Linked DNA regions of Homo sapiens: all the other regions are linked to region 1. Evidence: promoter capture Hi-C in 16 types of primary human blood cells and fetal thymus (Javierre and others, 2016). All regions are on one chromosome and are shown on one strand. The core of a region is centred on a gene start or on the middle of the fragment in contact, and the rest is flanking DNA. Distances in the headings are between cores, read along the strand shown. Region 1 holds the start of TMEM270 (transmembrane protein 270). Region 2 overlaps EIF4H (eukaryotic translation initiation factor 4H). Region 3 holds the start of EIF4H (eukaryotic translation initiation factor 4H). Region 4 has its middle 20 kb from the start of EIF4H.

The links. The method cuts DNA at HindIII sites, captures the fragments that hold promoters and counts their contacts. A CHiCAGO score of 5 or more calls a contact.
Region 2: a contact is called between a fragment that was not itself captured here and the fragment with the promoter of TMEM270 in region 1, in 2 of 17 cell types (megakaryocytes and M2 macrophages). The highest score is 5.5, in megakaryocytes.
Region 3: a contact is called between a fragment that was not itself captured here and the fragment with the promoter of TMEM270 in region 1, in 4 of 17 cell types (megakaryocytes, M1 macrophages, endothelial precursors and 1 more). The highest score is 7.0, in megakaryocytes.
Region 4: a fragment that was not itself captured here is called in contact with the fragment with the promoter of TMEM270 in region 1 in 1 of 17 cell types (M1 macrophages); the score reaches 5.2 in M1 macrophages.

The regions. Positions count from the first base shown.
Region 1 is chr7:73,857,979-73,865,010 of GRCh38, forward strand. It overlaps TMEM270 (transmembrane protein 270), which reads left to right and starts at 3,181. Exons shown (of 3, transcript NM_182504.4): 1 at 3,181-3,288; 2 at 7,015-7,032. The coding sequence starts at 3,217. The HindIII fragment of the contact is 5,367 bases long and covers 3,015-7,032 here.
Region 2 is chr7:74,191,356-74,198,387 of GRCh38, forward strand. EIF4H (eukaryotic translation initiation factor 4H) reads left to right here. Exons shown (of 7, transcript NM_022170.2): 6 at 3,386-3,523; 7 at 3,814-5,741. The coding sequence ends at 3,953. Among named protein-coding and RNA genes, the nearest start is that of MIR590, 3.7 kb to the left of the region's middle. RefSeq lists an enhancer at 4,784-5,285. The HindIII fragment of the contact is 1,789 bases long and covers 357-2,145 here.
Region 3 is chr7:74,173,064-74,180,095 of GRCh38, forward strand. It overlaps EIF4H (eukaryotic translation initiation factor 4H), which reads left to right and starts at 1,293. Exons shown (of 7, transcript NM_022170.2): 1 at 1,293-1,379. The coding sequence starts at 1,321. RefSeq lists a silencer at 1,044-1,553 and enhancers at 1,056-1,350, 1,332-1,845, 1,846-2,358, 6,385-6,885, 6,886-7,032. The HindIII fragment of the contact is 2,137 bases long and covers 2,452-4,588 here.
Region 4 is chr7:74,150,688-74,157,719 of GRCh38, forward strand. No RefSeq gene overlaps it. Among named protein-coding and RNA genes, the nearest start is that of EIF4H, 20 kb to the right of the region's middle. The HindIII fragment of the contact is 6,585 bases long and covers 328-6,912 here.

The sequences.
Region 1 (7,032 bases), core at 1,931-4,430:
CTCTGTTGGGATGCCTCTGTCTATGTGTCTTTCACATTTCTGTATGTCTTGTGAGTGAGGCACTAATGGATTGCCTTTTGCCCTGGACTTTCTTTTCTAGGATATCTGTATATCAGACAACCTTGGAAGACATAATGTCTCCTTCTGGGGCAAAAGGCAGCCCTGCTTACTGCACATTAGAAAAGATTTGGGTTTCCTGGCCAGGCGCGGTGACTCATGCCTGTAATCCCAGCACTTTGGGAGGCGCTGGCAGGCGGATCACCTGAGGTCAGGAGTTCGAGACCAGCCTGGCCAATATGGTGAAACCCCATCCCTACTAAAAATACAAAAATTAGCTGGGCTTGGTGGTGCGAGCCTGTAATCCCAGCTACTCGGGAGGCTGAGGCAGGAGAATTGCTTGAACCTGGGAGGCGGAAGTTGCGGCGAGTGGAGATGGTGCCACTGCACTCCAGCCTGGGCGACAGAGTGAGACTCCATCTCAAAAAAAGAAAAAAAGAAGGCTGGGCGAGGTGGCTCCCACCTGTAATCCCAGCACTTTGGGAGGCGCTGGCGGGTGCATCACCTGAGGTTAGGAGTCTGAGACCAGCCTGGCCAAGCTGGAGAAACCCTGTCTCTACTAAAAATACAAAAAAGTAGCCGGGTATGGTGGTAGGCGCCTATAATCCCAGCTACTTGGGAGGCTGAGGCAGGAGAATTGCTTGAACCCGGGAAGTGGAGGTTGCAGTGAGCCGAGATTGTACCACTGCACTGGGTGACAGAGCAAGACTCCATCTCAAAAAAAAAAAAAAAAAAAAAAAAAGAAAAGAAAAGATTTGGGTTCCCTAAACTCAAGCCACCTCTCCTGTAACACACCCACCTCAGATACTGCCAGGCATCATCTGGCCCTTGTCATATCACCCTGTGGGATTTGGAGCTCAAGGAATGAATGGAAAATGCTTATAACCTAGTTCACTGCTATTGCCATGAGTAACATTGTCTTTGATCTCTGACCTGGGAGTCTCATGTCTTCCTGTGGCAGCTGTGGAGCTCTGGTTGGCTAACTTGTTAGCATGAAATTGGGCAACGTCTCAGATCATCGTGGGTCTTGACATCCTCCAATTCTATCTGTTGTACCTGCTACAGATTTCTGGCATCTGTTGTCTCCATTTCCAGGGCCTCAGCCCTGGTCAAGGCTCCCATCATCACATGTCTAGGGGTTTATTTGTTCTGGATTCCTTTTTGCTGTCCCTACCCCAGAGTCCTCTGCCTTAGTTTCCATGCACACTGCTTGAGCCGCCTGCTGCAAGACCCCCACCCGACCATCTGCTGGAGGGCTTTCTCTGGTGTTTGTGCTGGTAAGATTGGAGGTTCAGCGGGAGTTAATGTCCAACAGGAAGCAGACAGGTCATGGAAGATAAATACCCCAGTATTCATGCTCCTTGGGTGGGGTGACTCTGAGGTGCGTTCTGCACCATTTTCCAGGGGATTTTGGGGATCAGCCCCGGTTGTCTGAACTCAAACCCTGCTCATGAACTCATCTGTCCTTGCCTCTCTTTCTTTTCTTTCTCTTTCTTTTCTTTCCTTCCTTCCTTTTTCTTTCTTTCTTTCTTTTTCTTTCTCTCTTTTTCTTTCTTTTCTTTCTCTTTCTTTCTTTCCTTCTTTTTCTTTCTCTTTCTTTCTTTTTCTTTCTTTCTTCTTTCTTTCTTTCTCTCTCTCTCTCTCTCCCCCTCCCCTCCCCTCCCCTCCCCTTCCCTCTTTTTATCACAGAGTCTCACTCTCTTGCCCAGGCTGGAGTACAGTGGCATGATCTCAGCTCACTGCAACCTCTGCCTTCTGGGTTCAAGCAATTCTCCTGCCTCAGCCTCCTGAGCAGCTGAGATTATAGGTGCACGCCACCATGCCAGGCCAATTTTTTTTTTTTTTTGTATTTTTAGTAGAGACGGGGTTTCACCATGTTGGTCAGGCTGGTCTCTGCTGAGACCAGCTTGGCTGGGGAGACCCTAACCCAGCAGCACTAGAGGAATTAAACACACACACACACACACACACACACACACACACACACAGAGAAATAAAGAGGTGTGAAGTGGGAAATCAGGGGGTCTCACAGCCTTCAGAGCTGAGAGCCTCAAACGGAGATTTACCCACGTATTTATTAACAGCAAGCCAGTCATTAGCATTGTTTCTATAGATATTAGATTAACTATAGATTAGATTAGATTCCCATAGAAGTATCCCTTATGGGAAACAAAGGGATTGGGCCCAAATAAAGGGATGTGTTTGGCTAGTTATCTGCAGCAGGAGCATGTCCTTAAGGCACAGATCACTCATGCTCTTGTTTGTGGTTTAAGAACGCCTTTAAGCAGTTTTCCGCCCTGGGTGGGCCAGGTGTTCCTTGCCCTCATTCCGGTAAACCCACAACCTTCCACCGTGGGTGTCATGGCCATCACGAACATGTCACAGTGCTGCAGAGATTTTGTTTATGGCCAGTTTTGGGGCCAGTTTATGGCCAGATTTTGGGGGCCTGTTCCCAACAGGTCTCAAACTCCTGACCTCGTGATCTGCCTGCCTCGGCCTTCCAAAGTGCTGGGATTACAGGTGTGAGCCACTGTGCCTGGCCCCTTGCCTCACTTTCTGACTTCCTATGGATGCTTGCAGGGCCCACTCCCCAAATAAACTCATCACCCTTCAATTTTTTTTCTTTGTTTAGAGATAGGGTCTTGCTCTGTCACCCAGGCTTGAGTGATCCTGGCTCACTGCAACTTCTATCTCCTGGGCTCAAGCGATTCTCCCACTTTAGACTCCTGAGTAGTTGGGACTACAGGTGTGCATGACCAAGGCTGGTTAATTTTTTTCTTTTTTTGTTTTTTTGTAAGACAGGGTCTTGCTATGTTGCCCATGCTGGTCTCAAACTCCTGGCCTCAAGCGATCCTCCTACCTTGGCCTCCCAAAGCATTGGGAATCCAGGCATGAACCCCGTTCCTAGGCGGCACTTGATTCCTGTTCCAAGATCTGGGGAAATCCGACCCGAAGGAAGCTTTGCTCTAAGACCTCCTTGGCCGTGTTGGGCTCAGACGTGGACTGAGGTTTCAGAGGAAGCAGTGGAGCGGCAGGAGCCAGGTAAAGGCAGTGGGTCACTGGCGGCAACCGGGTCCCCATGGTAACTTGGTCCCCACCCTGTGGCATCTGTGAGGTCACCCTGCTTCTCCCAGCTGGAGTAGGTGGGGGAGGCCAGACATGGAGGCCCTTCCTCCAGTCAGATCCAGCCTTTTGGGGATCCTGTTGCAGGTTACGAGGCTCTCAGTGCTGGTGAGTGGGGGCTGGGGGTAAGTGGGGTGGGGACCACACACCAGGCCCTTCACAGAGCCACCTCAGAGCTGCCGGGCCCAAGCCCTGCCTGTCCCATCCAGTGGAACGAGGTGGCTGCCTGCCTTCCAGAATAATCTGACATCTCCCAGAAGCCCCACTCCAAACTACAGTGCTGACATTTTCTTTTCTTTTCTTTATTTAGAGACAGGGTCTCGCTCTGTCGCCCAGCCTGGAGCGCAGTGGTGCCGGCTCAGCTCGTTGCAGCCTCCAACTCCCGGTCTCAAGCAATCCTCCCCCCTCAGCCTCCAAGTAGCCGGGACTATAGGTGTGCACCACCACGCCTGACTAATTTTTGTATTTTGTAGAGATGGTGTCTCACTACGTTGCCCAGGCGGGTCTCCAACTCTTGGCCTCACATGATCCTCCTACCTCAGCTTCCTGAGGTGCTGGGATTATAGGTGTGAGCCACCGCACCTGGCAGCATTTTCTCTATTGAGGGTCACTCCTATGGGTGAATCATTGTTTTTCCCATTCATTTTTTCTTTTTTTTGAGACAGAGTCTCGCTCTGTTGCCCAGGCTGGAGTGCAGTGGTGCGATCTCGGCTCACTGCAACCTCTGCCTCCTGGGTTCAAGCAGTTCTTCTGCCTCAGCCTCCCAAGTAGCTGGGACTACAGGCACGTGCCATCATCCCTGGCTAATTTTTTTTTTTTTTTGTATTTTTAGTAGAGACCCTGTTAGCCAGGATGGTCTCGATCTCCTGACCTTGTGATCTGCCCGCCTCAGCTCCCCAAAGTGCTGGGATTACAGACATAAGCCACTGCGCCTGGCTCATTCATCTCTCTCTCTTTTTTTTTTTTTCAGATGCAGTCTTGCCCTGTCGCGCAGGCTGCAGTGTAATGGTGCGATCTCGGCTCACTGCAACTTCCACCTCCAGGTTCAAGCAATTCTCCTGCCTCAGCCTTCCAAGTAGCTGGGATTACAGGCGTGCGCCACCACGCCCAGCTAATTTTTTGTATCTTTAGTAGAGACAGGGTTTCACCGCATTGGCCAGGCTGGTCTCAAACTCCTGACCTCGTAATCCACCCACCTCGGCCTCCCAAAGTTCTGGGATTACAGGTGTGAGCCACCGCACCTGGCCCATTCATCTCTTTTAAACATACACATGCTTGTGGTCGGGGTCACAACTCAGTCACACTTAGGAGGCCGAGGTGGGAGTATAGATTGAGCCTGGGAGGCCAAGGCTGCAGTCAGCCAAGATCATATAACAGGGGGCAGTTGAGAAAGACAGACACCATTAGATTTGCATCTTGGGACCGGGAGCTGTGGCTCACACCTGTAATCCCAGCACTTTGGGAGGCCGAGGCGGGCAGATCACCTGAGGTCAGGAGTTCCAGACCAGCCTGACTAACATGAAGAAACCTTGTCTCTACTAAAAATACAAAATTAGCCACGCGTGGTGGTGCATGCCTGTAATCCCAGCTACTCAAGAGGCTGAGGCAGGAGAATCGCTTGAACCTGGGAGGCGGAGGTTGCGGTGAGCCGAGATCCCACCATTGCACTCCAGCCTGGGCAACCCTGGGCAACAAGAGCAAAACCCTGTCTCAGAAAAAAAAAAAAAAAAAAAAAAAAAAAGATTTGCATCTTGGCTGTTTTACCCTCTAGCTGTGTGAATTTGGGCAAATCACTTCACCACTCTGAGCCCGTTTCCTCTCCTATAGAAATGATCTTGTGGGATCATGTGGGATATCATAGGTTTCCCTCCTCCCTGGTCTCAGCACCATAACCTGGGAGGTCCTATTTCCTAGCTCTACCCTAATTCTTCTCCCTGCTGGACCCTTTGGTCTCAGCATAGCTCCACCCTCCACGTCCCAAGCTCTGCAAATCCAGCCCGTGAGTGGGGGGTCTTGCAGCCAATCTCAGATGGTGGGGCCTGTGGACACGGGGATGGGGGGTCCAGGTGGGTGGATTGGTGTCACTCAAGGGCTGGGGGCTTTCCAGCTCTGATGAAGGGTCTCCAGGACTCAAGAACAGCTTTCCCCCACCTCACCCCAGTCCTGCAGCTTCATCTCAGTGAATGGGAGACACCGTTGTCCAACTCACCACCCAGATCAGAAATCTGGAATTCTTTTTTTTTTTTTTTGAGATGGAGTCTCACTCTGTTACCCAGGCTGGAGTGCAGTGGCACGATCTGGGCAAACTGCAACCTCCGCCTCCTGGGTTCAAGCAATTCTCCTGCCTCAGCCTCCCGAGTAGCTGGGATTACAGGCATGCACCATCATGCCCAGCTAATTTTTGTATTTTTAGTAGAGATGGGGTTTCACCAGGTTGACCAGGCTGGTCTCGAAATCTTGACCTCAGGTGATCCGTCTGCTTCGGCCTCCCAGAGTGCTGGGATTACAGGTGTGAGCCACCATGTCCGGCTGGAAATCTGGAAGTCTTTCTGGATCTCTCTCCTTCACCCTTCTCATTAGGTCTGTCGTGAATTATGTGACCCCTGCCCCATGTCTCTCACGCCTCCCTGCCCCTAATGGCATTGTCCTTTGCCCCAGCAGCCCTCCTGATGCCAGGGGACAACTGGTACAGAGGCAAAGCCCAGCTACTTGGAAGAAGACAAGTGACCTGGGTTCAAAGCCCACAGGATTGGGGTGGGGGATCGTAACATGGTAATAATAGCCATGAAACCTCCTTCAGTCTGGAGTATTGTAAATAATCATTTAAATCCAATGGAGGCCAGGTATAGTGGCTCATGCCTGCAATCCCAGCACTTTGGGAGGCTGAGGCAGGAGGATTGCTTGAGGCCAGGAGTTCGAAACCAGCCTGGATAACATAGCAAGACCCCGCCTCTACAAAAAAAAAAAAAAAAAAAAAAATTAGCTGGACTTAGTGAGATGCACCTATAGCTCCAGCTACTTGGGAGGCTAATGGGGGGAGGATTGCTTGAGCCTATGAGTTCAAGACCAGCCCAGGCATAATAAGAAGACTCCATTTCTTAAAAAAAAAAAAAAAAAAATTAGCCAGGCATGGTGGCATGCACTTGTGTGGTCTCAGCTTTTTGGAAGGCTGAGATGGGAGGGTTGTTTAAGTGTGGGAGGTCAAGGCTGCAGTGAGCTATGATGACACCACTGCACTCCAGCGTGGACAACAGAGTGAGATCCTGTTTCTTAAAAAAAAATATCCAATGGAAAGGAACCCAAATACAATATGAAACACCTTCTAATGTTCCCTTCTCAGAAGGGAGTCCTTCAAAGTGGACAGAGTTCATCCTTGCACCTGTGGGGAGCTGAGGCCTTGAGATGGGGATCTGACTCAAGGTGGTCCAGCAGCTTCACCTCTACAGTAAAAGTGGGGTTCCTGGCCAGGCGCAGTGGCTCACGCCTGTAATCCCAGCACTTTGGGAGGCTGAGGCGGGTGGATCATCTAAGGTCAGGAGTTCGAGACCAGCCTGACCAACATGGTGAAACTCCATCTCTATTAAAAATACAAAAACTAGCCAGGTGTGGTGGCAGGCGCCTGTAATCCCAGCTACTCAGGAGGCTGAAGCAGGAGAATCGCCCGAAACCGGGAAGTGGAGGTTGCAGTGAGCCGAGATAGCGCCATTGCATTCCAGCCTGGGCAACAAGAGTGAAACTCCGTCTCAAAAAAAAAAAAAAGAAAAAGAAAAAGTGGGGTTCCTGTCCCAGGAGGGTGATGATGGCTGACGGTTGTCTCTCTCTCTTCTTCTGCAGTTGGTTCAGAACCGAGAT
Region 2 (7,032 bases), core at 1-2,500, 330 kb after region 1:
TCGCAGGTGTTATAGAAGTTGCCCACATACTAACGTCTTTCTACCCTTGGCTTAGCTTGGCCACTGGCGCTCAAGCAGAGACACAGTGAACACGGCCATGGCCTGGCCGCCACCAGTTCTGGTGGGAACTGCAGTGTTTTGGTGACATCTCAAACCCTATGTGGGCTCACTCGATGGAGTAATGGCTAATTTGATACTTTATACGTTATTTGCGAGAGTAGATCTTTTTTACTTTTTAATAGGATGGTGCTATTTTTTTTAATGATACCTGCTCATGTAAAAAACAAAATAGAGCAACAGAAAAGTACCAAGAAAGCAAAAACATTTCATCATCAGAAATAGCCAGTGTTAAACTAAGCTTTGTAAAGAAAACTCTGAAGATTCTCATGAATAGTTTGCTTCCTAGAAACCCACCAACAGATTTTTTGTTGTTGTTTTTTTTGAGACGGAGTCTTGCTCTGTTGCCCAGGCTGGAGTGCAGTGGTGCGATCTCGGCTCACTGCAAGCTCTGCCTCCTGGGTTCATGCCATTCTCCTGCCTCAGCCTCCCAAGTAGCTGGGACTACAGGCACCCACCACCACGCCCGGCTAATTTTTTGTATTTTTAGCAGAGACGGGGTTTCATCATGTTAGCCAGGATGGTCTCGATCTCCTGACCTCGTGATCCACCTGCCTCGGCCTCCCAAAGTGCTGGGATTACAGGCATGAGCCACCGCGCCCGGCCCCCACCAACAGATTTGATGAGAGATCCTTGTTCATCTGCTTCACCAGCGTGGTGTGAGCTATTTGTTTCACGCTAGACATTGGTGGTCGAAATCATTTAATCTCATAGTAAAGGGTGTAAATTTACTTTGTACTCACGTGGAAAGGTACACTTCACAGTTTAGTTTGGGGGAAACGTGAAGTTAAATGTTTTAATACTAACTAGGCTTGTTCACTGAACTGTGTAATGTGGGTAAAATACTTTGTAAAGGACCTTATACTCGACTGTATGCCTCCCAGTGTATTTCCCCTAAAGCAGTGCTCTTATTGGTCTAAATCTGTTCAGACTTGCTTTCATTACTTGGTTTGTTAAAATTTATTATTTAACTCAGTCTCTGAACTGGGTGTGAGATCCCTTGGTTTCCAAAACCCTTGCCACCTTTAAAGAATAGAAATCGGCCCCCACCACAGGTGATGCAGTCAGCGCTTATCATTGGAGGTGGTTCTGTGGAGTTGCTAGAACACTGAATGAGCCCGTGCGGTGCTGCTCCTGTGTGCTACAGATCACAACATTTTCGTCAGCTGATCATACCTAACATTGCTTTATGTGACTTTTTTTTTTTTCTTTTTTTTTTTTTTGAGACAGAGGCTCACTCTGTTGCCCAGGCTGGAGTGCAGTGGCATGATTTCGGTTCACTGCAATCTCCGCCTCCAGGGTTCAAGCGATTCTCCTGCCTCAGCCTCCCAAGTAGCTGGGATTACAGGCGCACACCACCACACCCAGCTAATTTTTATATTTTTAGTAGAGACGGGGTCTCTCCGTGTTGGTCAGGCTGGTCTCGAACTCCCAGCCTCAGGTGATCTGCCCACCTCTGCCTCCCAGAGTGCTGGGATTACAGGCGTGAGCCACCACACCCAGCCTATGTGACCTTGATTTTAAAGACGCCTCATTTAATGTTAGTGTTGATTCATTTAATAGTGTTAACATTGAACTCAGGGCCAGCTGTAGTAAGTAGTCTGTGGTGCCATCATTTCAGCCTGTTAGAAAGCTCATCCCACACCGGTTTTGTCTGTAAGACACCTGACAGCCAGCCTGCACTTAAGAACAGCAGACAGCACTTCACACTGCACCTGGGGCCACTTCAGACAGCGATGTCACCAGAAAAAGCCCAAAGGGCAAAACACCCGACACTCATCGTGAAAAGACTTGACAGCTAATAACTGAAACAGGCAGAGCATTATCGTTTTCTGCCTCAGCTGGGATCGTCGCATCTGTGCAGGTCCAGGACTGACTGGAGAAATGCTGCTGGTATCTAGCTTGGGATTACACATGAATTTTAGCGACTGGGTGGATTTGCAAATATGGGATCTGTGGATAATGAGGATGACTGTATAGTGCATACTGCGGGCTCTGGGGGTTCTTCTCAAAGACAAGCTCCCTGAAAGCTTGGAGCCTTGGCACCACTCTCGCAGAGAGTAGCAGTGGCACCCCCTGAGTGCGCAACCAACAGCAGCAAGCTCATTTGTTTAATTATGGTTTAACTTCTTTTCGCCAGTTTTTTTTTTTTTTCCTTGAGACAGAGTCTCACTTCATCACCCAGGCTGAAGTGTAATGGCACGATCTTGGCTCACTGCACCCTCTACCTTCCAGGTTCGAGCGATTATCCTGCCTCAGCCTCATGAGTAGCTGGAACCCCAGGCGTGCGCCACCATGCCCAGCTAATTTTTGTGTTTTTTGTAGAGAGTGAGTCTCACTGTGTTGCCCAGTCTGGTCCTGAACTCCTATACTCACCTCCCACCTCAGCCTCCCAAAGTGCTGGGATTACAGGCGTGAACCAGTCTTTTTACCAAATTTTAACATCAGTAGGTTATACAGTTAAAGTTTAGCTTTCACTGAAGTACAAGCCTGAAGGCCCCTTAAGACCATTGAGAAAATACTCTTTCCTCCTACACACCAGTGGGAATTCAGCATTTCTAAATGAGATGCAGTTTACTTCTGCCAAGAGCCCACTTAGCAGGCACACAAATGAATGGGGAAAGAACGCTTTGCCCCCACAGGAGGCGCCGGTGGGGGTGAGGCGCTGTGCTCTCTGCTCATGCCCCTCTGTGTAGGGCATGGCCAATTTCGGATAACTGCTTTGTTTACCACACAGGTGCTTTGCTTGTAGAATGGCCCACACCTAAAACGCAGCCAAAACAGGAAAATTGGGACTTTGTGTTTTTATTTTGTCTTCATATAGCGTTTTCTTGTGATTTTTGTGTTCTGAGTTGTAAATACTTCTAAATTTCAGGTTTATCTTTTAAAATAGCTGTATAGATTTCTATTAGAAAATAGAGTTCAACCTGCTTTGAGGCTTTCTTGTTTTGCTTAAGCCGTATTAAAATACAGTTTCGTGGTATTAATATTTTTCTACTTTTCATGCAAGCTGAGCATGTAAACAGCTCGTTTGTTTGCTCTCCTAAGATCTTGATTCCTTTTTCTTTGGGAAGTCTGTTAGCGCTGTCATTACTCCACACATTGGCATTTGGACCCACTTTTAACACACTTTATTTTGGAGAGACTTCAGATAGTGGACAAACTAAAGAATTTAAAATGAAACTCAAACAATTCCCAGAACATTATTCTATAAGCAGCTTGGAGACGATAGTTTGAAAAGTAATTCAGTGTCCTGTTTCTTCCTCAGGCTTCAGGGATGACTTCTTAGGGGGCAGGGGAGGTAGTCGCCCAGGCGACCGGCGAACAGGCCCCCCCATGGGCAGCCGCTTCAGAGATGGCCCTCCCCTCCGTGGATCCAACATGGATTTCAGAGAACCCACAGAAGGTACGGGCTCATGTGTCAGTGGAGGGCATCTTGTCCTGATGGGATGATCATGGCCGGTTCACACCCCGTGGGGACTTGGCGTTCTACGGCACACAGAGTTGTCGGCATAGATCCCCACGTTCTCTGGAATAGCAAGTTCACCTTGGTCATTAGAGCATCTGCTGTTGGGGTAGCAGGCCAGGTGAATTTTAGAAAGTGGGCTGGTTTGCTGACAGCAACATCAGCATGGTCGTTTTGCTGGATATGGAATGGGATCCACACTCTGACAAACTCTGCTTTTTCTCCCCCAGAGGAAAGAGCACAGAGACCACGACTCCAGCTTAAACCTCGAACAGTCGCGACGCCCCTCAATCAAGTAGCCAATCCCAACTCTGCTATCTTCGGGGGTGCCAGGCCTAGAGAGGAAGTCGTTCAAAAGGAGCAAGAATGAGCCTGCGGTTGGGAGGGAATGGGGCGTGGGGGGTTAGAGCAGGACCACAGCCTGGTGAGTCCCCGGGCAGCCGTCCTGCAGCCGCCACTCCTGCGCCTGCCATTGGCCTCCTCACAGCGGAAACACAGCTTGTGAGTGCATGTCAGCTGTTAACAAGTGGTTTTTAGTACATTCTGGGCTTTGCTGTATCTATCTAGTGCCTGTTTGTGCGTTTTTTTCTTTCTTCCGCTGCTTCCCCATTTTCCTTCTGTCCTTTTTCTCCTGCTCCTTGTTTTCCCAGCAGCACATGGGGTTCCTCGGAGGAGCAGAGGTGGCCGCCGTGGGGGGGCGTTTGGGCTGCGGTGCTGCGTCATTTTTCCTTTGCTTTCTCTTTACTTTAGACACTGGCCCAACTCCAGGCGTTTCCTTTCATTCCCTCAGTGCTTCTCTTCTGACCTGCATGTTGAGTTCTGTATTGCTGGGGCTTCCAACAAAAACCAGAGTCACTGACAGAGGGAACAGCAGAGACCTTGTTGGTATTCAGCTGTGATGGATATAGAGAATCAGAGGCACCTTGTTTTCACAACTAGGATAAAAATATCTGCAGGGTCCTTTCCATTCCTATTTAGAGGGAGTCCTGGCTCCATGACCCCCTCCCGAGTGGACTGTCCAAGCAGATAGGCTCACACGAGAAACAGTGAGGCTGAAAGGGGGGGCTATGGAAGAGCGGTAGGGAGTCCACGGAGAAGATGCAGTGAATGCTTGCATGCATTCACACGTGTGTGTGTCCCAGCTAGTTCACTCCTTTCGCCGTGCGTGGTGGAGGCTGGCCTCTCTGGCTGGGTGCAGTGAATGGCCAGCGGGTTTCTTTTCTGCTGGGCCAAGGCGCTTTGGGGGTGGAGGGGGTGGTGCTGGTGCTGCACTGGGCTGACTGCGGCGCTGACGCAGCGTTTCCCCCCATCCCTGTTGCCTGTGTGTTGTGTGGATCTGTTCCTAGTATAGGCAACATAATGAGATACTGTGCTTCCCACCTCCCCTTCAGTTCAGAGCCAAAATGGGTCTAGAATCTGGCACTTTACTCATTTCCTTTGATAAATTGTACTATGCAGAGCTGTCAGGAACCTTCAGATAGCAGTAGAGGACTGCAGCTGTCTAGGTCTGCGGCCACATCTTGGGGACACACTGGACTGTTCCCATGTGCAGGGTTCAGCAGTTATGTGGGAGTGCTAGGGGTTAGGCTTTTGAGCTTGAACGCCTGCGTGTGAACAGATGAAAAATCCTTCAGTACCCAAGTCCCAGTCTGTCCTATGGGGAGCAGTTTGGGGGCGGCCGGCAGCAGGAGCCTGGGAAAGAGGCCCTCGCCAGGTGATGGCAGGGCCAGGGTGGCCTGGGGCACCCAGCGGAATGTGCTTAGTATTTGGTCACCAGCCGTCATCCTGGGCTTTTCCTACTGTGTCTTGTTACAAGGCCTCAGCAATCCACAGAACTCTCTCTCCTTCCTTCCACCTGTCAGCTTCTCTGCTTCTGAGATAAGAACCATTTGTGTAACACCAACACTTAACTTCAGAAAGACATGCATTATGTGGTGTAATCAAACCCGATGCTTTCAGATGACCTACTTACATCTTCAATGTGGATAAGATAAAGAACAAAACACATGCATCTAAACTGCTGGGCAATCCAGTTGACTTTTAAATGTAAGAATGGAATTCCAAACACTTAACACATTCAGCTATATGACAGAAAGTAAATCTATGGATATGGTATTTTGTGAATGATCTTTTAAATAAAAGAAAACCTTACGTAATATTTAATGCTTGCCTTTATTTTTGAGTTCTTTTTAGCTGCTCATGGAATGTAACAATTTTAAATTTGGGAAGCACCATTGAAATGGAAGAGTCTTCCTGTCATTTTAATTCTGGGATGAGTGAAGTTATTTTAAAAGCTGGTGATGATTAGAAATAGGATGCCAATTTTTTCCCCTCACTTGCTAAAAATGTCCTTTTCCCAACCAGGCAGAAACCTTGAAAGTCTGGCTGTTTTTGGTTAGGTAAAGGAACATTTTTTTCCCAAGATGGAAGAAATCAAGCATTTACACAACATGTGGCTTCTTTTAACAACTGCTTGTAAACGAAATTCTAGGTGCCCCTCATGGCTGGGAGGGCTGCTGCTTCCTGACAGCAGATCCTGACTCTGGGGAGGTGCTGCTATAGGTTGGTATTGGATAGTGTTAAAATTGACTTAGGCAGACAAAGAAGAGCTGAGTGGGCAAGGTGCGGGGCATGAATGCGTGTTTGGCAAAGTCCTGGCTGACTTTGGAAGGGCCTGGCCAAGGCAGACCTTGCCTACCTTGAGGTAGGAGCATTGTCTGGTGATGGAGGACCCCGGACCACGACTAAATTTTAGTAAGGCAGGCAAGGGCTGTTCAGGTGGGAGCCTAGAGTAACTCTTTTGCTTCAACTACTTTCTACCCAAGAGTAGGTGGTAGAGAGGACCGGTGTTTCAGAGACAGGGTCTCCCTCTGTCACCCAGACAGGAGTGCAGTGGCGTGATCTCGGCTCACTGCAGCCTCCGCCTCACGGGTTCAAATGATCCTCTTGTCAGCCTCCCAAGTATCAGGGACTACAGGCACCCACCACCATGCCTAGCTAATTTTTGTATAGTAGAGATGGGGTTTCACCATGTTGACTAGGCTGGTCTCAAACTCCTGACCTCAAGTGATCCACCCACCTCAGTCTCCCAAATTGCTGGGATTATAGGCACAAGCCACCATGCCTGGCCCTGACATCTATTTTTAGTTGGTGATTTCTAGGGAATAGCCTGGTTTTCTCAATGAAGGACATTACTTAACAGAGATTAAGTCTAGAACAAGAAGAGCTGATTAACCTAGAACACGGGTTGACCTTGCCTTTAGGGTGGTGAAACGGCCTAAAACCTGAAGGAAGACTTCCCAGGGAGCTGGTCACTGGGGCCAGGCTCACTGGGCTTCTCTGAAGTCAGACCCTGGCCACATCTGGATGTTTTGTTTTTTTGGTTTTTGTTTTTTTTTTTTTTTTTTTTTTTTTTGGTGAGATGGAGATTTACTCTTGTTGCCCAGGCT
Region 3 (7,032 bases), core at 2,270-4,769, 320 kb after region 1:
AGCCTGGGCAACATGGTGAAACGCTGTCTCTACTAAAAATACAAAAATTAACTGGGTGTGGTGGTGCACGTCTGTCACCCCAGTTACTCGGGAGACAGAGGCAGGAGAATTGCTTGAACCGAGGAGGTGGAGGTTGCAGTGAGATGAGATTGCGCCACTGCACTCCAACCTGATTCTCCATCTCAAAAAAAAAAAAAAAAAAATGCAAATTAGGCGAGGTACTGCCCGCCTATAGTCCTAGCTACTCCAGAGGCTAAGGCGGCAGGATGGCATGAGCCCAAGAGGTCAAGGCTGCCGTGAGCTACCACTGTTCCACCGCAGTCCAGCCTGGGCGACAGAGCGAGACCCTGTCTCAACAACGAACCAATAAATACATAATAAAAAGTAATGGTTAAGCGGAAGATACCTAGGTACACATCACAACAAAATTCTATGAGGTTCTTTCAAAGTGTGCTTAGATAATTAAGGTTTGTCAACATCGTGGCATCCACAATTACTACCATCTCAATCACAAACCTGGAAATTTACCCGTGTAATTAATTCCCACTGCATAACCATGTTTTGTTATTGCTAGATGATGGAATCCACAACAGTATCCAATTCTTTTTCCAAGGCAACGACTTCTGCAAAAAACCGAGATGTGCAGTCTCTCTTGCTAAGTCACCGATCACCTATACTCTCTCCTCTCAAAACCCCCCAATACCCAGGCAGCGAGTAAGCCCTGGAAGGCAGGATTCGTGTCTGCATCCCACCGCCTCGCACCCCCTTCCGGGGCATCCTCATCGTGTGGCCAGCTCCTGCCTGGAGAAGGAGGTGGCCTTTACTTGGGTGTCACCCGGGGACCACTTGGGGGTCCAAGCGGGACAGGCCTCCGAGGTCCCCGCCATGTATGGAGGCCGAAAGGCAGCGTCCCAGGCGAACTGGAGAGGGAGTTCCCCCCAGCTCTCCAGGTCACCTCCCGCCGACGGACGGAAAGGCCGGCGCGCACGGGCGTGGTGCGGCGGGGATAGGAGGCAGCCACGGGCGCACCCCAGGGCCAGCACATAATGGGCCGCGTAGGCCGGGCAGGCGTCCAGCTGGGACGCCGCCGCACCACGTGGGCTGCAGAGCGCACGGGGCAGGCAGCTGCCGGTGGGCCCAGGGCCGGGCGCTGCGCGGCCAGCGTCCGTGCGTGCGTGCGCGCGCGCGCGTGCGCGTGCCTGCGTCCAAGGGATTTGCGATCAGGCGGCGCGGCGGACAGCCCCGGCGGCGGGGCGGGGGGAGTTATATTGCGGGGTCCTTCCTCGCTCACCCTGGTTCCTCTCGGAGCGGAGACGGCAAATGGCGGACTTCGACACCTACGACGATCGGGCCTACAGCAGCTTCGGCGGCGGCAGAGGGTGAGGCGGGCGTGCGCGGGCCCCGTCGGGGGCTGCGGGACCGGCGGAGTCGGGGCCGTCAGGGTGGCGGCCGTCCTGCGCTCAGCCGGGGCGGCGGGAGGCGGGGGCCCGCGGAGGCCTAGGAGCGGCGCCTGGAGGGCCGGGGCCTGGAAATGGCGCGCTCGGAGACGGGGCGGCGGCGGCTGGGCTCCCGGGGTCTTGCTTGCGGGGCGGATCCCTTCCACTGCCTCCCGCCAACGACAACGTGTTGGTTTTTGCCCTGCCTTGGCCGCGGCGGCGCCGATGCCCGGAGACGAGCGCCCGCTTCCAGCCCCATCCCCCCTACGGTAGGACCAGTGCGGGGCTGAGCTGTGGCGCTGGGGTACGGGCCACACGGCCTGCCCCGCTCCGGTCCCGGCCTCTTTCGCGGCCCTCTGTTGCCTGCCCGCCTTGCAGGCCCCTGGCCCCTTCGCCACGAGGCCGGCCGACTGGGGAAGGTCGGCAGCCAAGAGGGGCGATTCCCTTCCCCTTACGTGTGAGGCAGGGATTTGGCGGCTCTGGCCCGGGGATGGTACGACTCCTTGCGGGCGGGGGGAGACCAAGGAGATAAATCCATCGTAGCTTCTTTGTATTAATCTTTCTTGGGTCACAGTGCCTTGACAGGTGCTACGTGCTCTTTGGCACAATTTCATTTCTCCTTGGTTTCTCGCTCTGATCTGGAGAAGGAACCGCATTTAGCGTCGTCCTGATTGTTGTCAAATGCAGACAACTATGTATAATTGAAACACTTTGCTTAAAAGAAACATCTTTGAATAGAGAGCTCATGGTGTTTAATTCCAGGACTCTGCACTTTTTTTTATTTTATTTTTTAAATACAAGTTGCCTCGTTAGAATATAGGCTATGAACATCTTGCTGTTTGTCAAGGACACACTTGGGCTTTGTGTTTTCTTGCAGAAAGGATTACTTTCCCAGGATAACACCACAATAATACACACTGAGGTGTTCAGTCTCCTGGGTTGCAGTCCAAAAGTATCTTTGTTTGGTAAAGAATGATCACTTTTAATACCTTGGTTTGGGAACGGCTCAGACAAAAGCTTGTTTCGGGGCAGGAGTGTAGCTAATGTTCATGATACTGTAACGTGGAAGTGTGCCGGTGTAGGTGGAGCTATTGTCATTCCAAAGAACATTTTATTTGCTAATAAAAAAAGAAGTAAATGTTGGATGACATGAAATTATCGCCTTTGGGTTAGGTTTCTAAACATCAAATTTGTTCTCAAGTCATTTCGAAATTTAATAACTAGGGTTTTTTTTTTTTTCCTAGTTCCAAAAAACGTTCACAGAAGTACCCAGAAAAATTCTTCTTAAACAGCGTGGTCAATTTAAGTTTTAGTTGCATTGGGACTACAATAAGGTGACCTTATTAAACTGAGTGTGGGGATTTAAAAAAATTTCCTTCAGACACATTTGCCAGCTCTTCTGGTGTCAAATTTTGACATTTGGGGGTGCCAGGAACAATCAGAAGTAAAATTCTATTAAGATGCTATTAATTTCAAATCTCCACAGCAGATGAAAATATTAGCCATTTGCCCCAGGTGTACTCCAAAAACTGATAGGAGAGTTTCCTAGGTAGCACTGTGCATCACTTGAACTTCCTAATAGAAAGTCTCTTTACTGTTAAGCATCTTCTATGTCTCACTTACTTGGAATTTTCTATTTGGCTTCATATTAATGTGAAACTACATAAAGTATTGCTACTTTCAGAAGTAGTTTTAAAAACTTGTTGGTGAATTTACATATTCATTTATACATGTGTATTCTTTTTTTTTTTTTTTGAGATGGAGTTTCACTCTTGTTGCCCAAGCTGGAGTGCAATGGTGTGATCTCGGCTCACTGCAACCTCCACCTCCCGGGTTTAAGCGATTCTCCTGCCTCAGCCTCCCAAAGTGCTGGGATTACAGGCATTAGCCACCGCGCCCGGCCTCAATTATTTTAATTATGTCCACATGAACAAATGTCACTGCTTTACAATGCTTAAGCATCATAGAAGATTGCCACCTATGGAAAGCAGTTTTAACACTGCATTGTTTGGTACTTGTGTAGGCACCTTCTCCCTTGTCTAAAATGCCTCAGACAGGCTCGTACATCTCACCTCTGAATTACTTGGGTCACAGGTGAAAGAAATGGTAGGCCTAAAATGAACAGTTATCATCATAAAACATAGTTTGGTAGTTATACATCTTCCTAAGTTTATTTCGTAGTTGTGTTTAATAACCAGTGCAGTTGTCAGGAAACAGTATTGAACCACTGCTTTTTTCCCCCGAGCCTGTAAGGGCATGTCCCCAGCAGCCAGGGAGAGAACCAGGGACTGCATTGTTCAGCAAGCAAATCAAAACAAAATTCCAAATGATCAAGAGTTGATTGTACCAGATCTTGAATGGACTTTGTTTTGCAGTTTGCTAAATTATCTTTTTGAGGTTCCAGTTTCTCATCTACCATTGGCAGTAAAGTGCAGAGTAATACTGATTTTATATTTCTAATTGCAACAAAGCTATGAGTGCTTAGTGGAAAACCACCGATCCTGAGAATTAGGGTGGAAATTGGAGGTGGCAAGAATTGAGGTGGCTGAAATGGTGCCATCTAAAAACTGGCAAAACTCCAAATTTATTCTTTATCAGGATTCAGTTAGGGAGTTTAGAATTCTTTTTTAAATAGAGATGGGTTTCACTATGTTGCCCAGGCTGGTCTTGAACTCTTGGACTCAAGTGATCCTCCCGCCTCAGCCTCCCAAAGTGTTGGGATTACAGGCATGAGCTACCACGCCCAGCCTAGGAGTTTAGAATTCTAACCTTTGAATCTTTAAACTTAGCATGTCTGTCTAAATTTCTGAGCATATTTTTATCCAAAATTTTTATGGTGGTAAAATATACATAACATAAAATGTGCCACTTTACCCATTTTTCAGTATACATTTCAGGGATATTGAGTGTATTCGTAATGTATAACCATCACCACTATCCAGCTCCTTAACTCTTACAGCTTGTAAAACTAAAACCCTGTCCCCTTTGAATAGTAATTCCCTATTGCCCTCCTTCCCCCAGGTCCCTGGCAACCACCATTCTACTTCCTGTCTCTGAGCATATTTTAAGATTTGTATGTAATAGGAAGGAAAGCAGTGTATAAAAACTACAGCTAGTTTTCACTGATGCTAGGGCCTGTAAAGCTATTGAAAAGCTTATTTTAAAATGCTGTTTACATGTCAAATGTCAAGTCGTTTAGGTTTGTTATCCTTCTTCACTCCAAGTGTTCCATTGCTTAGTTCCAAACCATTATCCTCTATGAAAAGTGTTACCAGAAATATTTGGATTTGCTAAGAGGTCTCTGCATGACGGTTCATGTAAAAGCCCTGGCTTTGGAATAAGGCAGACCAGAGTTTCATCAGTTCAGCCATGTGTTAGTTGTGTGATCTGAAGTAAGTTTCTTCACCTCTCTGAGCCTCGTTTTCCCCACATATGAGTTAGAAACATGTATTTATTTATGAAATAGGCTCTCCTTCTGTCACCCAGGCTGGAGTGCAGTGGCAGGATCATAGCTCAGTGCAGCCTCGACTTCCCAGGCTCAAGCCATCCTCCCACCTCAGCCTCCCAAGTAGCTGGGATTACAGGGTGCGCCACCATGCCCAGCTAATTTTTGTATTTTTTTGTAGAGACAGAGTGTCTCTATGTTGCCCAGGCTAGTCTCAAACCCCTGGGCTCAAGGGATCTTCCTGCCTCAGCCTCCCAAGGCTCATTGTGTGAGCCACAGTACCCAGCCTTCAATTTATGTTTCTATTAGAAATTAAGCTTTGTGGCTGGGTGCAGTGGTTCATGCCTGTTATCCCAGCACTTTGGAAGGCCGAAGCAGGCGGATCACTTGTGGCCAGAAGTTTGAGACCACCCTGACCAACGTGGCAAAACCCCATGTCTACTAAAAATACAAAACGGGTGTGGCGGCACATACCTGTAATCCTAGCTACTTGGGAGGCTGAGGCAGGAGAATTGCTTGAACCAGGGAGGCGGAGGTTGCATTGAGCTGAGATCATGCCACTGCACTCCTCCAGCCTGGGCGACAGAGAGAGACTGTCTCCAAAAAAAAAAAAAGAAAAATTAAGCTTAGTGTTCTGGAAAGACTTCACAATTTTAAGGAGTCTCCCTGGAAGCTTAGAACGTACAAAGCAGACTCTGAATGTCTTTCCAGGATCACACTCTGGCTTCCAGCTTCCCCTGGAAGGTTCAGGAGAGTATTTGTCGCCTGGTTGCTTTTACATCATGCTGATTAGACCTGCACACCCGGGCATGAAATGAGTGTGATTGCATCATTTTCATAGAACCTAATGGCAGCTGTATGTACGTCTAAGACTTCTTTTGTGTAAGTCGAATGTTCTTCGAAGTTTCCCCACGTCATGATTTATGTGATTTTCCGTCTTGATCAGGACCTTCTGAAGGAGCTCAAGTATGTGGCTGCTCCACGGTTGATGAGTCTCTGGTTAAGCATGGCCTTCCAGTTCAGGGCTAGGGGGGCCGTCACCTCCCTTTGTTCTGCACATTCTTCTCCTGTCTTTCATGTATACTCACATTTTTGGAGCCTTCTGTGTACTCACATTTTTGGAGCCTTCTAAATGTCTGGCTTAATAGAACACAGCTGGATTCTCATACCTGCATCTGTCTCCACTCTTGGAATGTGTTGCTTTGGTTGACTTTTATGGAGCAGCTCAATCCTTGCACAGATAAATAGTTGGAAATGGGAGGAGTAATCAAATAATTCTGGATATTCATATTTGATTCTATACCAAAACTCAATAAGCAGTAGTTTCTATGAAGGTTAGTTGCAATGTGAAACCTAAAACCTTATCAATAAACTCTTCATACTTTTACATTAGAGTTCATCATTTGGCTGGGCGCGGTGGCTCACTCCTGTAACCCCAGGACTTTGGGAGGCCAAGGCGGGCGGATTACCTGAGGTCAGTAGTCTGAGACCAGCCTGGCTAACATGGCAAAGCCCCATCTCTACTAAAAACACAAAAACTAGCTGGGCATGGTGGTGGGCCCCTGTAGTCCCAGCTACTTGGGAGGCTGAAGCCATAGAATCACTTGAACCTGGGAGGTGGAGTTTGCAGTGAGCCCAGATTGCGCCACTGCACTCCCGCCTGGGCGACAGGGTGAGACTCTGTATCAAAAAAAAAAAAAAAAAGTCACTTTATCTTGTACTCCGACTGGATCCTTTACCAGTGCATACATTTGTAAGGTGTTGGTGATTTGGAAAGGACCTGTTCACTGAGCCAGGCAGAGCCATGCAGATGTTCCAGATGTTGGTACATTTTGTTATACAGTATCAAAGTCACATTCACCATAGCTGTTAGAAAAGTCTCTGAGTATTGAAAGACTGTCAGGCTTATGTTGATGGATACAGGTTTTCCGAAACTCTTTTTTGCTTGAAAGCTTAAATTTTACCATTGGCAACAAATACTGTTATTTTGGCCAGGTGCTGTGGCTCATGTCTGTAATCCCAACACTTTGGGAGGCCATGGCAGGAGGATCACTCTAGCCCAGTCTGGACAATATGTCCAGACCTGGTCTTTTCAAAAATAAAATTAGCTGGTGTGGTGGTATATGCCTATAGTCCCACCTACTTGGGAGG
Region 4 (7,032 bases), core at 2,370-4,869, 290 kb after region 1:
AAGCTGGCTGGGCAAAGTGGCTCACACCTGCAATCCCAGCACTTTGGGAGGCCGAGGCCAGTGGATCACGGGAGGCTGAGGCTGGTTCAAGACCAGCCTGGCCAACGTGGTGAAACCCATCTCTACTAAAAATACAAAAAATTAGTTGGGCGTGATGGCAGGCGCCTATAATCCCAGCTATTCAGGAGGCTGAAGCAGGAGAATCTCCTGAACCCAGGAGGCAGAGACTGCAGTGAGCTGAGATCGTGCCATTGCACTGCAGCCTGGGCAACAAGAGTGAAACTTCGTCTCAAAAAAAAAAAAAAAAAAGGGGGAGGGAGCGGATAAAGCTTATCTTGCATGTCTAATATATGATCAAACTAGATGGTACCCGATACAGCAGAGCACATAGTAATTGCTCGAGAAAGGTCATTATCCAGCAGAGCACAGTGGTTCATGCCTGTAATTCCAGCACTTTGGGAGGCTGAGGCAGGAGAATCATTTGAGGCCAGGAGTTCAAGACCAGCCTGGGCAACATTATGAGACCATCCCCCATCTCTACAGAAAAGTTTTTACAAATTAGCTGGGCATGGTGGGGTGTGCCTGTAGTCCCACCTACTTGGGAGGCTGAGGTGTGAGCATCACTTGAACCCAGGAATTTGACGCTGCAGTGAGCTGTGATTGCACTGCTGCACTCCAGCCTTGGTGGCAGAGTGAGACTCCAGATAAATAAATAAATGGAGGAGCTCACCACCATCCCCATGGGCTGAGCCAGGCTCGCACCACTGCACTCCAGCCTGGGCGACAGAGCGAGACCCTGTCTCAGAAAATAAAAAGAATTTTTTTTTTTTTTGAGACACAGTCTCGCTCTGTCGCCCAGGCTGGAGTGCAGCAGTGTGATCAGGGCTTACTGCAGCCTTGCACTTTTTGATGTTGTTGTTGTTCTTAGTTTCTTTGTTTGTGTTTAACGCTAAAAGATATTCTCCAGCAGAGAGCTGGTGCCATCAACAAGGAAAGAGAAAAAAGGAGAAGGGGCTCAAGTACTTGATACTTGATCACAGTCACGATATTCTCTAACAGAGAAGGCAGGGGCTTGATTTAAATAAGGCCGGGCACGGTGGCTCACGCCTATAATCCCAGCACGTTGGGAGGCTGAGGTGGGCAGATCACCTGAGGTCAGAAGTTCAAGACCAGCCTGGTCAACATGGCGAAACCCGTCTCTACTAAAAATACAAAAATTAGCCGGGCGTGGTGGTGGGCGCCTATAGTCCCAGCCATTCGGGAGGCTGAGGCAGGAGACTTGCTTGAACCCAGGAGGTGGAGGTTGCAGTGAGCCAAGATCGTGCCACTGCATTCCAGCCTGGGCAACAGAGTGAGACTCTGTCTCAAAAAAAAGAAAAAGAAAAAAAGAAAAAAATTTTAATACAAAAACAGCAATGACTGATTTTATGGAGAAGGCACTGGCCAGGAACAAATTCCCATTCCCACCCTTGAACCCTCCAAGAAGCTGGTGGTTGATAGCTTGTCGGTAGTGCTGCTGTCCTTTCTTCAGCCAGGGAGGGGTTCACAAAGTCGAGTGTGAGGCTGGAGCCCTCCTTACAGCTCTCATATTCCCTCTTACCAGCCCCTGTCCTCACATGGCTGCAATCTGCCCAAGCATCACACCCTTCCTTAGTGTCCGCAGAGAGCCTGCGGGGAACGGACAAGATCAACCCTGCCCCACAGGCACTCCCGATCTGTTTGGCAGGTCAAAAGGAAATCCATATGGCCCTTGAGAACTTGTTGAGGGACAATAGTTGTCACTGGGAAGGGGAATTGGATGGCCTGTTGCCCAGAGTATGCGGGAGACAAACTTTATACCATATACCCCTGGAAGGTTTTTGTTTTTTTTTTTTTTTTAGAGACAGAGACTCACTCTGTTGCCCAGGCTGGAGTGCAATGGTGCGATCTCGGCTCACTGCAACCTCCGCCTCCTGGGTGCAAGCGATTCTCCTGCCTCAGCCTCCTGAGTAGCTGGGATTACAGGCGCCCGCCACACCCATCTAATTTTTGTATTTTTAATGGAGATGGGGTTTCACCATGTTGGCCAGGCTGGTCTTGAACTCCTGACCTCAAGTGATCCCCCGGCCTCGGCCTCCCAAAGTGCTGGAATTATAGCTGTGAGCCACCGTGCCTGGCCTCATGGATAGTTTTTGAATCTTGCATATTGTGCAAGTAAACTTACTTTTTTTTTTTTTTTTTTTTTTTGAGATAGAGTCTTGCTCTATTGCCCAGGCTGGAGCGCAATGGCGCGATCTCGGCTCAGTGCAACCTCCACCTCCCGGGTTCAAGCGATTCTCCTGCCTCAGACTCCTGAACAGCTGGGACTACAGACGTGTGCCACCACACCCAGCTAATTTTTGTATTTTTAGTAGAGACGGGGTTTCACCAAGTTGGTCAGGCTAGTCTCAAACTCCTGACCTCGTGATCTGCCCGCCTTGGCCTCCTAAAGTGCTGGGATTACAGGCGTGAGCCACCGCACCCAGCTGTAAACTTACTTTTAAAAATAAAGGCTGGGCGCAGTGGCTCACACCTGTAATCCCAGCATTTTGGGAAGCCGAGGCGGGTGGATCACATGAGGCCAGGAGTTCAAGACCAGCCTGGCCAACATCTCTACTAAAAATACAAAAAGTAGCCTGGTGTGGTGGCACACGCCTGTAATCCCAGCTACTCGGAGAGACTGAGGCAGGAGAATTGCTTGAACCGGGGAGCCAGAGGTTGCAGTGAGGCGAGATTGCGCCACTGCACTCCAGCCTGGGCAATAGAGCCAGACTCCATCTCAAAAAAATAAAATAAAAACAACAGGCCAAGCCCAATGGCTCACGCCTGTAATCCCAGCACTTTGGGAGGCCAAGGTGGGTGGATCACCTGAGGTCAGGAGTTTGAGACCAGCCTGGCCAACATGGAGAAACCCTCTCTCTGCTAAAAATACAAAATTAGCCGGGCATTGTGGCACATGCCTGTAATCCCAGCTATTCGGGAGGCTGAGGCAGGAGAATCACTTGAACCCGGGAGGCGGAGGTTGTAGTGAGCTGAGATCGCGCTACTGCACTCTAGCCTGGGCAACAAGAGTGAAACTCCGTCTCAAAAAAAAGAAAAAAAGTCGTCCTGATCCTACTCAACTTTGTGCCCCACCCCCAAACTGGAAACGGGCAAGGCCTATTCCAAAGCCCTGAGGCTTCCTCTCCGGCCTGGCTGACCTCCAGGCTGGCTAATCCATTCATCAGCCACTTCCTAGGTCCAAATTCAAGGTATGGAATCCAGGCCAACCACTTCCTTCTATCTTGACCTCCACCAAGGACCTGGGAGACCTGGACAAGGGCAGGGTTAGAATGCAGGTTCCACGCCCTGGGATTAGGCTATGACCTGAGCCGTCCCAGCTACTAGGGCAGTGATGAGTTCCTCCTTCCTTTCTACGGCTGCCCTGTCCAGTATGAAAGCCTCTAGCCACATGTGGCTACTTAATCTTAAATGAAAAGTAATTCAAATGAAATATAATTGAAAAGTCAGTTCCTCAGTCACATTGGCTACATTTCCCAGTGCTTGATAGCTCAGCGAATAGCTCCCTGTGTATTTCTGATTTTGCATGCAAAATAATCTGGTCCAGGTGTGGTGGCTCACGCCTGTAATCCCAGCACTTTGGGAGGTCGAGGAGGGCGGATCACATGAGGTCAGGAGTTCGAGACCAGCCTGGCCAACATGGTGAAACCCTGTCTCTACTAAAAATACAAAAATTAGCTGGGTGTGGTGGCACACACCTGTAATCCCAGCTGCTCAGGAGGCTGAGGCAGGAGAATAGCTTGAACCTGGGAGGCGGAGGTTGCAGTGAGCCGAGATTGTGCCACTGCATTCCAGCCTGGGCAACAGAGCAAGAGTCTGTCTCAAAAAATAAACAAACAAACAAACAAATAATCTGAACATTTTCCCATCACAAAATCCTTAAAATGGTCAATAAAATGTAAGAAAAATTTATTTCGGCCAGGCGCGGTGGCTCACGCCTGTAATCCCAGCACTTTTGGAGGCCGAGGCAGGCGGATCATGAGGTCAGGAGATTGAGGCCATCCTGGCTAACATGGTGAAACCCCGTCTCTACTAAGTACACAAAAATGAGCCAGGCATGATGGCGGGTAGCCTCCGGCTACTTGGGAGGCTGAGGCAGGAGAATGGCGTGAACCCAGGAGGCGGAGCTTGCAGTGAGCCGAGATTGCGCCACTGCACTCCAGCCTGGGTGACAGAGAGAAATTCCATATCAAAAAAAAAAGAAAAAGAAAAATTTATTTCAAATTCACAGCTGCATTTCCAAGAAAGAAAAGGAAATCTCCAAAGGCAGAAACGAGAAAAGACTGATCCATGCAAAGAACAACTGGTGAGCTCTCATTGCTTCTGCCCCGGAGTGAGGATGGGGTGAGCAATCGGGGCTTATGTTTTGGTTATTTATTTATTATTATTATTGTAAGACAGGGTCTTGCTCTGTCACCCAGGCTGGAAGGCAGTGGCACAACCATAGCTCACTGCAGCCTCGAGCTCTTGGGCTCAAGTCATCCTCCTGCCTCCGCATCCTGATTAGCTGGGACAACAGGTGTGCACTAGCACAACTGGATAATGTTTTAAAGTTTTTGGAGAGATGGGGGTCTTGCCATGTTGCCTGGGGCTGGTTTTAAACTCATAGTCTCAAGCAATCCTCCTGCCTCTGCCTCCCAAAGTGTTTGGATTACAGGTGTGAGCCACCGCACCTGGCCAGGGCTTGTGTTTTATTTTTTATTTATTAATTAATTTATTTTTTGAGACAGAGTCTTGCTCTGTCCCCCAGGCTGGAGTGCAATAGCGTGATGTCAGCTCACTGCAACCTCCGCCTCCCGGGTTCAAGTGATTCTCGTGCCTTGGCCTCCTGAGTAATTGGGATTAGAGGGATGCGCAGCCACGCCCAGCTAGTTTTTGTATTTTTAGTAGAGATGGGGTTTTATCACGTTGGCCAGGCTGCTCTTGAACTCCTGATCTCAGGTGATCCACCTGCCTTGGCCTGCGAAAGTGTTTGGATGACAGGTGTGAGCCACTACACCTTGCCAAGGCTTGTTTTAAATCCCATGTGGGGTACGGGAGACAAGCGGAGGCCCACCTAAGGTACAGAGTTAGAACTGAGATCACTTCATCCTTCAGGAGCCACACCTTCACCAAAAGGACTGAAACCGTCCCCACAGGGTTGACAAGAACTGCACGCCCGGTTCCGGACAGAAATATTGTTATAATTAGCATCCTTCAGGCTGCACTTTGGCCTACTTCGTTGTTGCTAAATGTCACGTAGCACTAGTTCCTGACCATTGCATCCCATTGTTCCTACAGACAGGATCTCTGACACTAGGATCATAAGGCTTACTGTAAAGATTGCTTAAGATGTTTTTCAGGCCCCAAATTCCTGTGAAATAGCTAATACCAACCAGTTTGAGGATCCCCACAGAGAAACGGTATCAGCATAGAACACAGCTTCTTCCTGGGCTGGGGGCAGTGGCTCACACCTGTAATCACACCACCTGGGAGGCAGAGGTGGGAGAATTGTGTGAGCCCAGAAGTTCGAGACCAGTCTCTGCAACACAGCCAAGACCCTGTCTCTACCAAACAAACAAACAAACAAAAAAATCAGCTGGATGTGGTGGTGCAAACCTGTAGTCACAGCTACTTGGGAGGCTGAGGTGGGAGGATCGCTTGAGCCTGGGAGGCAGAGGTTTTAGTGAGCCGTGATCACACTACTGTACTCCAGCCTGGGTGACAGAGTGAGATTCGGTCTCAAAAAAAAAAAAAAAAAAAAAAAAAGAAAAGAAAAGAAAAGAAAAATTAGCGTGGTGACACATGCCTGTAGTTCCAGCTACTTGGAAGGCTGAGGTAGGAAGATCACTTGAGCCCAGGAGATTGAGGCTGCAGTGAGCTAAGATTGCTAAGATCGCGCCACTGCACTTCAGCCTGGGTAACTGACTGAGACCCTGTCTCAAAAAAACCAACAGAGGCTGGGCATGGTGGCTCATGCCTGTAATCCCAGCACTTTGGGAGGCCGAGGCGGGCAGATCATGAAGTCAAGAGATCGAGACCAGCCTGGCCAACATGGTGAAACCCAGTCTCTACTAAAAATATAAAAATTAGCCTGTAGTCCCAGCTACTTGGGAGGCTGAGGCAGGAGAATCACTTGAACCAGGGAGGCGGAGGTTGCAGTGAACCGAGATCGTGTCACTGCACTCCAGCCTGGGCGAAAGACCAAGACTCTGTCTCAAAACAACAGCAACAACAAAACACAGCTGCACCTCTCCTTGTCCCATGACTTTACTCTGCACTCTTCAACCAATCAATGACCTCCACACTTCAGCCCACTCCAAGACCCAGAATAGCCCCAGTCCGAAACTCCTGTGGAGGCAGATTTGAGGTTTCTTCCCATCTCCTTGTTTGGTGATTCTATGATGAAACACCTCTTCTCATTCTTATTTATTTATTTATTTATTTGAGACTGAGCCTCGCTCTGTCACCCAAACTGGAGAGCAGTGGCACGATCTTGGCTCACTGCAACCTCCGCCTCCCGGATTCAAGTGATTCTTGTGCCTCAGCCTCTTGAGTAGCTTGGACTATAGGCCTGTGCCACCACACTCTGCTAATTTTTGTATTTTTAGTAGAGACAGGGTTTCATCATGTTGGCCAGGCTTGTCTTGAACTCCTGACCTCAGGTGATCCACCCGCCTCAGCCTCCCAAAGTGCTGGGATTACAGGCATGAGACACTGCACCAGGCCTGAAACATCTCTTGCAACCTGGCATCTGGGCTTATTGACTTGCTGTGAGCATCAGACAACAGATCTATTACAGCTATAGGATCAGCTTGAGAACATGTACCCATCTACACAGAGAAGTGACAAGCAAGCTTATCCGTTTCAGCCTGAGAATTCAAAACTCCTAAGAAAAGGAGAATAGCTTGGAGCAATCTAGGGCCTGTGATGTAAGCAGGTCCAGAAAGACACGTGAATGGGAATTCAGGCATG